Regions from separate parts of the Homo sapiens genome. Here region 2 is linked to region 1. Evidence: promoter capture Hi-C in 16 types of primary human blood cells and fetal thymus (Javierre and others, 2016). All regions are on one chromosome and are shown on one strand. The core of a region is centred on a gene start or on the middle of the fragment in contact, and the rest is flanking DNA. Distances in the headings are between cores, read along the strand shown. Region 1 holds the start of SCUBE1-AS1 (SCUBE1 antisense RNA 1). Region 2 has its middle 26 kb from the start of SCUBE1.

What was found. Contacts are between HindIII fragments. The CHiCAGO score rates a contact against its expected background, and 5 or more counts as called.
Region 2: a contact is called between a fragment that was not itself captured here and the fragment with the promoter of SCUBE1-AS1 in region 1, in 6 of 17 cell types (M2 macrophages, M1 macrophages, M0 macrophages and 3 more). The highest score is 6.6, in M2 macrophages.

What each region holds. Positions count from the first base shown.
Region 1 is chr22:43,273,122-43,278,889 of GRCh38, reverse strand. SCUBE1-AS1 (SCUBE1 antisense RNA 1) reads right to left here and starts at 2,948. Exons shown (of 2, transcript NR_134582.1): 1 at 2,879-2,948. All of the region lies in intron 4 of SCUBE1 (signal peptide, CUB domain and EGF like domain containing 1), which reads left to right. RefSeq lists an enhancer at 670-1,170. The HindIII fragment of the contact is 3,024 bases long and covers 2,619-5,642 here.
Region 2 is chr22:43,366,787-43,372,554 of GRCh38, reverse strand. No RefSeq gene overlaps it. Among named protein-coding and RNA genes, the nearest start is that of SCUBE1, 26 kb to the right of the region's middle. RefSeq lists an enhancer at 2,421-2,922. The HindIII fragment of the contact is 4,109 bases long and covers 727-4,835 here.

The DNA.
Region 1 (5,768 bases), core at 1,699-4,198:
CAGGCCCAGCTCCACCCTCCTGGAGCTTTGCTGTGGTTTCCATACAGGGTCGCCTGATGCTCACAGCCACCCTGTGACATGCTTTGGATAAGTACTAATGTCCCCATCATGGGAGGGAAAACTGAGCTTCCCTGAGCTGCACTGGGGGGGCAGGACTTCAGGATCAGGGGCTGGATTCTGAGGCCAATGTCAGTTCTTTTTGCCCTGCACCATCCACTTGCAGACTCAAAGAAACAAGCCAATGGACAGAGACCCATGGGCCCTCCTGAGCCACCTCAGCCACATATTGATAGGATCCTATCAGTGTGCCTAGCTGTCAGGTTCCTATTGGCTCCTGGGACGGGATTCCTATAGGATCTGGGCCAGGCCTTGACCTGAGGGGCCCTAGCACGGCTCCTGCAGGGCCAGAGACATCCCCTGCCCTGTTCCAGGGCTTTCCATTATCAACTGTGAGTGCTGGGGCAGCACGGCTAGGAACTTCCTGTTTAAAGAGAGGGTGTGGCCATGCCTCCGAATCCCATCCCAGCCTCAGCACCTGCCTTCTTCAGCCACTCCTTGGAGAAGATCAGCCAGGCAAGGGCGCCAGGCAGGACATGTGGGGTTGCAGGTTCTCCTCGCTCCCTTGCCTGCTGCAGACCAGGTGGACAGGAGAATAAACAGCTCCCTTGCTTACTGGAGAGATTTATGGTGCTACCGGAGGAGGCCTGTCCTGGCCCTGTGCGGTCCGGAATGGCCCTCAAGGTGGGGACAATAAATCCAGCCCATTATTTTTTATGAGCCTCCCACTCCATAAACAACTCTTTCGGCTGGTAAGCCCAGCTTCACGCCCCTCTCCTGGCCTGGCCTTGAGCCGGCGCCAGGGGCACCCCCAGTACTGACTTCACATCAGTGGTATAAATTTCCCCTAAGCTGCAGAACTTTCAAATCTCCCAGAGTTGTGGGTGCAGGGCAGGGAGAGCTGCAACCCAGAGGGCTAGGCCAACAGGTAGCTTGCCCAGCCCTGGCGTCCTTCTCTGCCACAAGTCCTGGGGCAAACATTCATATATTTTATGACAGAATTGTTTACGAGAATTAAAATGAGATCGTATATACAAGACATCGCCTCATGTAGAGCCCGGTCCAGATCACTAGAACTGTGCAAAGCTGTCATACGCATCATAGCTGAGCATAGTGCATAGACTCTGACACGAGTCATCAGATCCTGAGAACAGTCTGTGTCATGTAGCTACCCCATTTTGCAGGTGAGCAAATGGAGGCTGAAAAGCAAAGAGACTTGTCCGTAGTGAAGAAGTAGCAAAGCCAAGATTTGCACCCAGGCCCAACCGCCTCCTAAGATCAAAGACACTTGATGAACCAATGGATGGGGGGCCAGGGGCAGGGGTGCTGTGCAGCCCAGATGCCCTGTGACACAAGGAGCCCCTGTCTCGCCATGCTGCCCTCTGCCTAGGGCTGCGCTGCCGTCTTTTGCCTGAGTTAGTGCGGCAGCTGCCTCACAGGCCTCCCTGCCCCGCAAGCCTTCTGGTAGCAGCCAGAACCACTGCTCTGCCCAACCCTCTGGCTCTGTCATTCCCCACTCAAGACCTTCCCATGGCTCCTGAGAGGAATGTGGTTCTCTGCAGCCTGTCCTTGCTTGGCATGTCATGAACCAGCCATAGTGAACTTCTCATCCCGGCCTCTGCCCACACAGCTCCCTCTGTCTGGAACTCCCGCTCATCCTGACTGACCATCGCTCACTGAGAACCCTCTACACCTTTTCCCCGCACACCTCCTGATCCCCCAGGTGGAACCTACGCATCCCTGCCTCTGTCTCATTCGGCCTCCACCCTCAGCCTCCCTGCCCTGTCTCTCATGTCTCTGCTCCCGGGCCTTTCTCCCCCAAGTGAGGATATGCCCTTGGACACAAGGACCCGCTGGCCCCCCAGTGTCCAGCCTGGGGTCTGTAGGGAGCAGGCAGTCAGGAAAAGCTGAGGCGAGGTCATGGAGTTGACGTGCGTGAGAACCGAAAGCATGCTGCCCTGGAGGGAAGCTGGCCTGCACGCCTGTTCTAGAGTGAAGTAGCAGAGGCCCTGGAAACACCATGTGTCCTGTCAGAGGTCACTTAGCATGTTGGGGGCAGAGCTGGAACTTGTCCCAGGCCCCTAGGCTCCAGACCAGTGCCCACCCCCTACACCGTAGCCCACAGCCTGGCTTCCCACCTGGGGTTTGTGGGCACAGGCCCTACGCATGGAAAGTCATGCAGATCTGGAGTGTGGGTTCGGAAACCACCGGGCAGATGCCTGGTTGGCAGAGTGGGGAAGCAGCCGAGGTCATCCTGGGTCATTAGGGAGTGGTGTGAGCCCTCCCTAGCCTCATTAGGGAAATTGGGTTGTGACTGTGGCCACAAGGCCAATCTCCTGGTGGGACGTCTGCCTGGCCACCCCTGGCCGCAGCATTCCCCAGGTCCTCGTCACCCGCCTGAGGCCAGCCAGGTGGGTTTTTGTCTCCCGGCCTGGTGGCTGCTTGATTATGTCACCAGACTCTTTCAGCATGTACGTCCCATGGGACTTCTTCCCTTCCTCCTCAGCCCCCGATCCTGGCTCCTCCTCTGCCTCAGCCCTCTCCTAGCTCTCCCCTAAGCTTCTTGAGTCTCCTTGCTGACCAGCAGTGGCCACTTCTCCAGCTCTGACCCCAGTACCAACTGTCCCCTAGACGGGGACCCCAGCTACAGAATTCCCACCTGCCCAAAACCAAACGCAGCATCTTCCCATCCTCCCAGACCTGTGCTTCCTAGCGCGTCCCCCATCAGTGGGGCACCAGCGCTGGGGTGCTGCCTTCACCCTTCCCCTGTGTGGCTCCCACATCCTAGTGTGACCGGATCCCACGTCCGAGCTCTACTCACCTCCCAAACCCAGCCAGCTTCCTCACCCCTGTTGCCCTGCCTTCTTCAAAGGTTGTGGTTGCTAATTGGTGTCCCTACCTCCGCCTCATCCCCCTTCCCTCCTGCATCCTGCAGCCGGGGCGCTTTCTCCGCCCCCCTCCGAGTTCCTCCATTGTCAGGCACTGCTGCCTTCCTGCCTCCCAAGGCCTCCCACAGTCCAGTTCCTCTCTCCTGGTTCCTCCCCATCTGCCTGTTGTTCTCCCTGTTACGGCACACGTGCCCTTTACTGATTACAACCTCGGTATGTGTCATCCTCTGCCTTTACTGCCATTTCCCATTCCCCTCCCTTCCTGGAGAACTCTTAGTCATCCATCAAAACCCAGCGCACTTTCACCTCCTCTCTGAAGCTGTCTCTGACTCTTAGGCAGGCGTGCACGTCTTCCTCTTTACTTGCACTCATGTGTTTGAAATGGTTCAGCCCTCTACTGCAGGACCAGTCCATGAGCTCCCAAGAAGGGCAGGGATGTGTTTAAGTCATCCTTGTGTTTCTCACGTCTCACACAGGGCAGGGTGCAGAGGAAAACATGCCGCATGGGAGTGTAGAGGAGATGAGACCATCTCATGAGGGACTCATGCCCGAAGTGTGTGCATCATCCGTTCACAAAGTGCCTTCACACCCCTCGTGCAGAGCAGTGTGCCCAGCCCACCGCCAGGAGAGGGACGCCCAGCGCGTCGTGGTTTGCTGGGTCCTGCACTGCTGTCCCACCTTGCTCCCTTCCACAGCTGGTCAGCTTGCAGGTCTGCCGGCTTCTCTCCACGAGGCCTCTCCAGCCCCAGTTTGTCTGTCAGAAGCGCAGAGACCCCCAGCCTCACTCCCCAGGCCTCTGCATGGGCTTGTTCCTGCTCCAGAACACCTTTCCCTCCCGCTGCCCAGCCTCGCCTCCACATCACAGAGCGCCTGACTCCTGTGCCCCCAGGGCACATCACAGATCGCCCACACGTTTGTCTGTTGAGTGCAGCGACAAGTCACCAGACTAAGTTTGAGTCGGTGGCGGGAATTGGCTTATGTCCCCAAAGTGGCTGTACCTGCCGATGATCCAAACGTACCTACTGTGCCCCGAGCCCATGAGCCCCTTTTGTCCTCGAAGGGCCATGAGAAGTACCCGCTGCCGCCCCTCATGCACAGCTGAGGGAGAGGAAGTGAGCGCCACTGCTTGTGACGCAGCCGGGACTCCAGCCCCAGGCTGTGGCTCTGCAGCCCCTGCTCCTTTCTGCGGCATGTGGGTGGACAGTGGTGGAGAGTCACTGGCTGGGGCTCGGGGACGCTGCTCACAGCCTTACAGATCCTCCTGTTCGTGTGTCCACAGTGCTCTTACCACTGTCTCCTTCCGGGTTCCCAGGGCTGCTGTGGGAACACTTTTGGGATGCTACCACCTTGGCCCCCATGCCTGGGCGCCCTCCATCTCGTCACCTGCTGGAAAGGAAAAACAGACCTTTTCCCTGTTCGTGGCAGGCCATGGCCTGGGCACCTGCCTGAGCTCTCTGGCAGTAGGAGCTAAGGGTGGCACTAGACAGCCTGTCCGTCCGCCATGGCTTCCTTTAGGGTCCCTGTGGAGGGCAGGGCAGGGTTGCCAGATAAAATACAGAGTGCCCATTTAAACTGGGATTTCAGATAAACAAGTAATTTTTTTTATTATAAGTATGACCCATGCAACTTTTGAACATACTTATACTCAGGAAGTATTGATTGTCCACCTGAAATTCAGATTGAATGAGGCGTCCTGTATTTTTATTTGCTAAACCTGGCAACCTGAGGGAGGAAAGAAGGACACCTCCAGCCTCCCGGGCCTTGAGGGAGTAAAGCTCAGGAGGTGAGTGAGTCTCTTGACTCTTGACTTCTCTGGTGCAAGACCTCAGGTCCGTGGGGGCAGAAAAACTTGATTGCGGTGACACCTAGTGACCAGCCTGGGAAATTTCAGGAATCAAGGGAGAGGAACGGGGAAGAAACGAGGCAGGGCAGGGGCTCCAGGTGAGGAGCCAGCAGGCAGGGGAGAGGGAGCGGGCCAGCCTTACAGAGCACCCCCTGCAGCTTGAGGGATCTGAGCTGGAGCCCATCACCTCTGTTACTGCCCTTGAACACTCTTACAAAAGAAAGTTTTAAGCTGCGCGTGGTGGCTCACACCTGTAATCCCAGCACTTTGGGAGGCCGAGGTGGGAGGATCGCTTGAGCCCAGGAGTTCGAAACCAGCCTGGACAACATGGTGAAACCTCATCTCTACAAAAAATACAAAAATTAGTCAGGTGTGGTAGCGCACACCTGTAGTCACAGCTACTCCAGAGGCTGAGGCAGGAGGATTGCTTGAGCCCTGGAGTTCAAGGCTGCAGTGAGCTGTGATTTGATTACACCACTGCACTCCAGCCTGGGCGGCAGAGTGAGACTCTGTCTCAAAAAAAAAAAAAAAAAAAAAAAAGAGGGTTTTAGTCTCCCCACTTTATAAATTAGGCAACAACAAGTTCTAAAACCACATGCCTTAGAAAGGGCTGGGATGGGGACGCAAATCAGCGCTGTCGAATCAACCTGCCCCACCTCGGTGTTGCCCAACCCATAGAGCTTTCTGTGGCTCTGCAAATGTTTCTTGGTCCTCCCAACTGTCAGAGACAGAACCACCTCCCATTTCACAGAGGCAGCTTTCTAGGGGTTCCCGGTGCCAGGACTGGTCAAGGCCCTGGGGTGGGGAGAGGGTGCTGAAGGGAGGCTGGCATCCATCCTGCTTTCGGAGAAGCTTGCCAGGAGCCAATCACAGTCCCAGCTCTGTCTGTCTCCATCTGTGTACACAGTGCGTGCCTGCCAGTGAACCGCATGGCAGTGACTGGGTCTCAAACTGAGAATGAGCGTGTGGGGTTGGACACC
Region 2 (5,768 bases), core at 1,532-4,031, 94 kb before region 1:
TGGATTTTTTGGTTGTTGTTGTTTTGTTTTGTTTTGTTTGAGACAGCGTCTCACTCTGTCACCCAGGCTGGAATGCAGCGGCGTGATCTCCACTCACTGTAACCTCCGCCTCCCAGGTTCAAGCAATTCTCTTGCCTCAGCCTCCCTAGTAGCTGGAGTTGCAGGCAAGCGCCACCACACCTGGCTAGTTTTTGTATTTTTAGTAGAGATGAGGGTTTCACCATATTGGCCAGGCTGGTCTTGAGCCACCGTGCCCAGCTGATTTCACTGTTTTAAATGACCCCCACCCCCAAGCGCAGTGCTGAAGGGCTGTTGATATGGTTTGGCTGTGTCCCCACCGAAATCTCATCTTGAATTCCCACGTGTTGTGGGAGGGGCCCAGTAGGAGGTAATTGAATCATGGGGGTAGGTCTTTCCCGTGCTGTTCTGGTGATAGTGAGTCTCACGAGATCTTATGGTTATTATAAGCGGAATTTTCCTTTCCTCTTTGTCTGCGACCATCCACGTGAGATGGGACTTGCTCCTCCATGCCTTCTACCATGATTATGAGGCCTCCCCAGCCACATGGAACTGTAAATCCAGTTAAACCTCTTTCTGTTGTAAATTGCCCAGTCTCAGGTAAGTCTTTATCAGCAGCATGAAAATGGACTAATACAGCTGTCTAGTGTTCCTAAGTGCAGGAAGTCTGGGGTATGCCTTACAGGGAAAGCCCACGTTAGAGAAGCTTCGTTCAGGCAGGAGTTAGAGTGCTGTTGGCCATGAGCTCAGTGTTAATGAGTCAACAATATATATTAAATAGGGTATCTTTAAACAGAAATATATATAAAACAAAGTTATGTGTTGATCAGTTGGTGACAACACTGTGACCCCAGACTCATAGGAATGGAACCCTGTATTTCCCTCTTGGAGCATTGGCTTAGTGTTGGGTAATTCAGCATTTTTGGTGACTTTATAGACCGTAACTGGTGTGAATAATGAGAATAGACTGCTTTCCTTACATGCTTTCTCTGAAGATTACTAGAGAAGATACTTCACTAGAATAAGGGCTAAATCAAGAAAGAGGAAAATATGGGATATGGGAAAAAGAGAAAGGCAAGGGGGATCCCAGGTTGCTGGAGGCGGGATGCCCTATAGGCATGGGGCACCAGGCTCCAGCTTCCCTGGGCAGATGGGCGTGAAGACCCCAGTGCATCTCGAAGCCCTGCGAGGAAAGGGCAGGACTGAACTAGCAACAATTGTCTAGAGAACGATGCAAAGGAGAAACCACGAAAATGATTTGCTGGGGTCGGGGTAGGGAGTGCGACTGTGCGGAAAAGGTTGACAAAGAGGACAGTCATTTATTTGCTGCTGGAAGCCATTTACATGAATTGACTCATTGAAAGCAAGGCCAGGTAGAAGGCAATCAACCAAGAGGCTGAAGAATTTGTCCAGGATCACACAGCTAAGTGGCAGAAGGAGGACTAGAACCCGGAAAAGTGGCTTAGAACTCCATGCCCTTCACCACTGACAATGCTGGTGTCCTAAAAACAGGTCTGAGGGTGGGGGGCAGGTGCGCACAGTGAGTAGGGGTCAGGAGGCAGCGATATCCTCACCTTCCAGAAACAGAGGTCAACCAATGAGGCTGACAACTAAAAAAAAAAAAAATCAAGATGGAGTCTCAGAGGCCAGGCAGAGTGGCTCATGCCTGTAATCCCAGCACTTTGGGAGGCTGAGGCAGGCAGATCACCTGAGGTCAGGAGTTCAAGACCAGCCTGAGCAACATGGCAAAACCCCACCTGTACTAAAAATACAAAAATCAGCCAGGTGTGGTGGCGGGCGCCTGTAATCCCAGCTACTCAAGAGGCTGAGGCAGGAAAATCACTTGAACCCAGGAGGAAGAGATTACAATAAGCCGAGATCATGCCACTGCACTCCAGTCTGGGCGACAGAGCAAAGACTCCGTCACAAAAAAAAAAAAAAAAAGATGCAGTCTCAGAGGCAAATGACACAGGGTAAAAACAAAATAATTGGTTAAAGGAGGTGAAATAGTTGCCTCTGGGGAGGGGACAGGAGGGGGTGAAGGACAGGAACAGGGAACTGCTGTTCCTCTTAACAAACCTTGTAGAGCTATTTGCCTGTATAAGTTTCATGAAAATAAAAGCTAAAAATAAAGAGAAGAAATAAACACTGTTCCCGGATCCTAGACAGAGCCTGCAAGCCAGGGCTGCCAGGTGAGGCCCCGGGGACGGGGTAGCCATGGCTTTTCCTGTTTGCCCTGGAGACTTTGTCTTTGACTTGGGAGACACCCTCTGGCCCTCCAACACCAAGCACGGTGGTTGGGGGTTGGGGGTGGTTCCCCGTGTGAGTTACGGCCCCAGATTGGTTGACGATCCCAGCAGGGAGGGAATCGCCTGCCTGTGGAAGACCCCAGCTGCACCAATCTTCCTGCTCATTCAGGGGCTGCTGGGCTTGACCTATCGATGTCAGTTGCAAATGAGGGGTCCTCCCACAGCTGCTCAGCCAGCCCCTCATCTGAGACCCGTGCTCCAAAAAAGAAGCTGGGGCGGCAGAGGGCTGTCACCTCACACGCTAATGACATGGGCACGGACATAAGAGGCCCCCAAGAGACACACCAAGCACCTGAGGTCACAGAGACAAAGTAGAATCCACAGAGCAGTGGTGCCCCAGGGAGGCAGGAGACCCTCATCCCATCTCCAATCCCACCCTGGTCCCCACTCCCCAGTCCAGATGGGACTCCCTGCCTCTTTCCCAGATGTCCCCCACACTGACTCACTGTGGGCGGCAGCTTTTACGTAAGAGGGCCAAGTGATGGCCCCCACAACAGATCATCTGAGGCTGAGTATTAGACACCACTGCATATCCACCACGCCCCTCTTTTTCTCTTCCTGTCAAACTCAGTAATGGAGACAACCTCCTTCCTCTGGGAGTTTCAGATGCAGAGGCAAACTTTTCCCTCTCACAGCTATGATAACGGTGTCGTCTCATCTGGCCCTTAGCAATTTTTGAACCCCAGCACATCCAGCTAGTGGAATTAATACTTCTCAGGGTTCCTTCGAGGGCCAAATGAATCATGCAGGCTGGGGTATTTTGGGAAATAAAAGGGTGAGAAATCCAAAGAATATTTTGAGAAATGTGCGCAATCAGCCCTCTCAGATGTTCAAATAGATGATTAAGTCTCTGATTAAACAGCAGAGCTGGCATGAATGGAACTGACCAGAGAGCAGAGAAATGTTCTCATGTACATGAATTTAATACATGACCAAGCTGTCTTCAGTGGGCAAAGAACAATGGAAGGAGTAGCCAATATAAAAGCAGCTTGGGGGTCGGGCGCAGTGGCTCACACCTGTAATCCCACCACTTTGGGAGGCCGAGGCAGGTGGATCACCTGAGGTCAGGTGTTCAAGACCAGCCTGACCAACATGCAGAAACCCCGTCTCTACTAAAAATACAAAATTAGCCAGGCGTGGTGGTGCATGCCTGCAATTCCAGCTACTTGGGAGGCTGAGGCAGGAGAATCGCTTGAACCGGGGAGGCGGAGGTTGCAGTGAGCCAAGATCACACCATTGCACTCAGCCTAGGCAAAAAGAACAGAACTCCATCTCAAAAAAAAAAAAAAATCAGCTTGGATGCCTTCTTCATATCTTTCACAGATGCTGAAAAAAATAAATTATTTATCAAGCAAAGCAAACCCTAGGAGGGCTGGTCAAAAATATAAGTGAATATTAACCAGATCTCAGGAGGAATGGGAAGTCTTCGAGCTTTAAAATCATTAAGGAGATTTTTTTTTTGAGGAGAAGCAAAAGTGATTGACGACTATATAAAAACAAAAAACAAATCTCCCATACCACAGAATAAAAAACTAATGGGGGTAGAGGGGAACTAAATTGACAACCAAATGAATGGCAAAGGGTTAATATCAATAATCTGTGAAAACACTACACTGGCTGGTAAGAAAAGCCTTAAACCAACAGGGTTTTTATTTTCTTTTATTTTTTGGAACTTGACGAAATGATACCAAATTTCATCTGGAAAAATAAACGTGCGAGACCAGCCAGGGAAATTCTGAGGAAAAACAAAAGTAGTGGAGGAGGGCTGGCTTTACCAGATGTTAAAACATCTTAGGAAAGTACAATAACTTTTAAAGTTTAGCCCTGGAAAAGAAGTAGACAGTTCCATCCAGACGCGAGTGCAGAAATGGATGGAAATATGTAGGATTTCAGCACGTGAATGAGAGAAGGAATTTCACATCGGAGGGGAAAGGTGCATTGTTCAAAGTAAGGCATAGAGATAAGTGGGTAGCGGCCATCTGGAAAAAATAAAACAGAATCCCTACCTCACCCCCTACACCCAGATCAGTTCCACATGGGTCCAAAATTTAAACCAAAAAATTGAACCTTAAAAATTCTAAAAGAAACATAGGTGAACTTACAATCTTTGGAAAGGAAAGATCTTTATAGGCAGGATACAGAACACAGAAGCCACAATAAAATTCATTTGGGGAAATCAATGGGTGAGAAGTCCCAAGAATATTTTGAAAAAGATGGGGAATAAGCCCTCTCTGATATTAAAATACATGATTAATGGGGAGATGAGAAACAGGCTTTCCTCCATAAAACAGTTCAATACGTGATAATGGTGTCTTCTCTGGACAATGAACAATGGGAAGAACATTCAGACTGTGAAGTTGGGACATCATGAAAAGAAACATAAGTTTAAGTCCATTTTCCACATATACTAAAGAATAAATTATTTATAAAGCAAATCAAATCTTAGGCTGGCCAAAACAATAAAGGAATATTGAACCGGACTCTAAAGGAATGAGAACCTTGCAAGCTTTAAATGATTGAGGAAATCATGAAGGAAAAGGAGAACTGATTCAACTATTTAGAAAAGACCTTCTATATCAAAAAATCAAAGTGCAACAATTTTGACTACGTAACATTTTTTCATTTCTAGGTGAATAAAAAAGGTATATACCAAGTCAAGACAGAGCTGAACAGGGACTGACATTCACAGAATTAATTGCTTTAATTTAGAACATGTTTATACAAGTAAATGAAAGAAAGACTTAAAACCTAACAGATAATTGACAAAATCTGAATATGAAAAAGCAACTCCCAGAAAAACAAATTCAAGTAAATGGTAGCCATATGAAAAATGTTCAAGCTCACTCATCATCAAGAAACAATACAATGCCCTTTGGGGATAGGTTAAAAACCTATCCAATTGGCCAAGATTTGTAAGTTTGAAAATACCCCAAATATATGGAAAAATAGCCATTCTCAAACACTGTAGTGGGAGTATGAATTGGTCTATTCCACTCCTTTTAATGGCTGTATAATACTTCATGTGTGGATGTAGCAACATTTATTCAACCAGTCCCTGTTTATGGACATTTAGGGTTTTTTTCCTCCCAGTTTAGAATGAAAAGTGGTACCATGATGAACATCCTTGTACACACATCTTTGCATCCATGTGTAAACACATTTGTAGTAGAAATTCTTGGCAATGGAACTTCGCAGTAAATGCTGGTTTGCTATGAAAATTTTGAAAGATGTTTCCAAACTGCCTCCCGTAGGGTTACAGTCGTTTATACTCTGACCAATTGTATGTGAGCTGTGTTCCTATACCTTCTCCAGCAGCAAAAATTATAGCATTAATATTGTTTTGTTTTCATTGTTAAGTATATTTTTTAAAAGGGCAGTGGGGGCCAGGTGCGGTGGCTCACGCCTGTAATCCCAGCACTTTGGGAGGCCAAGGCGGGCGGA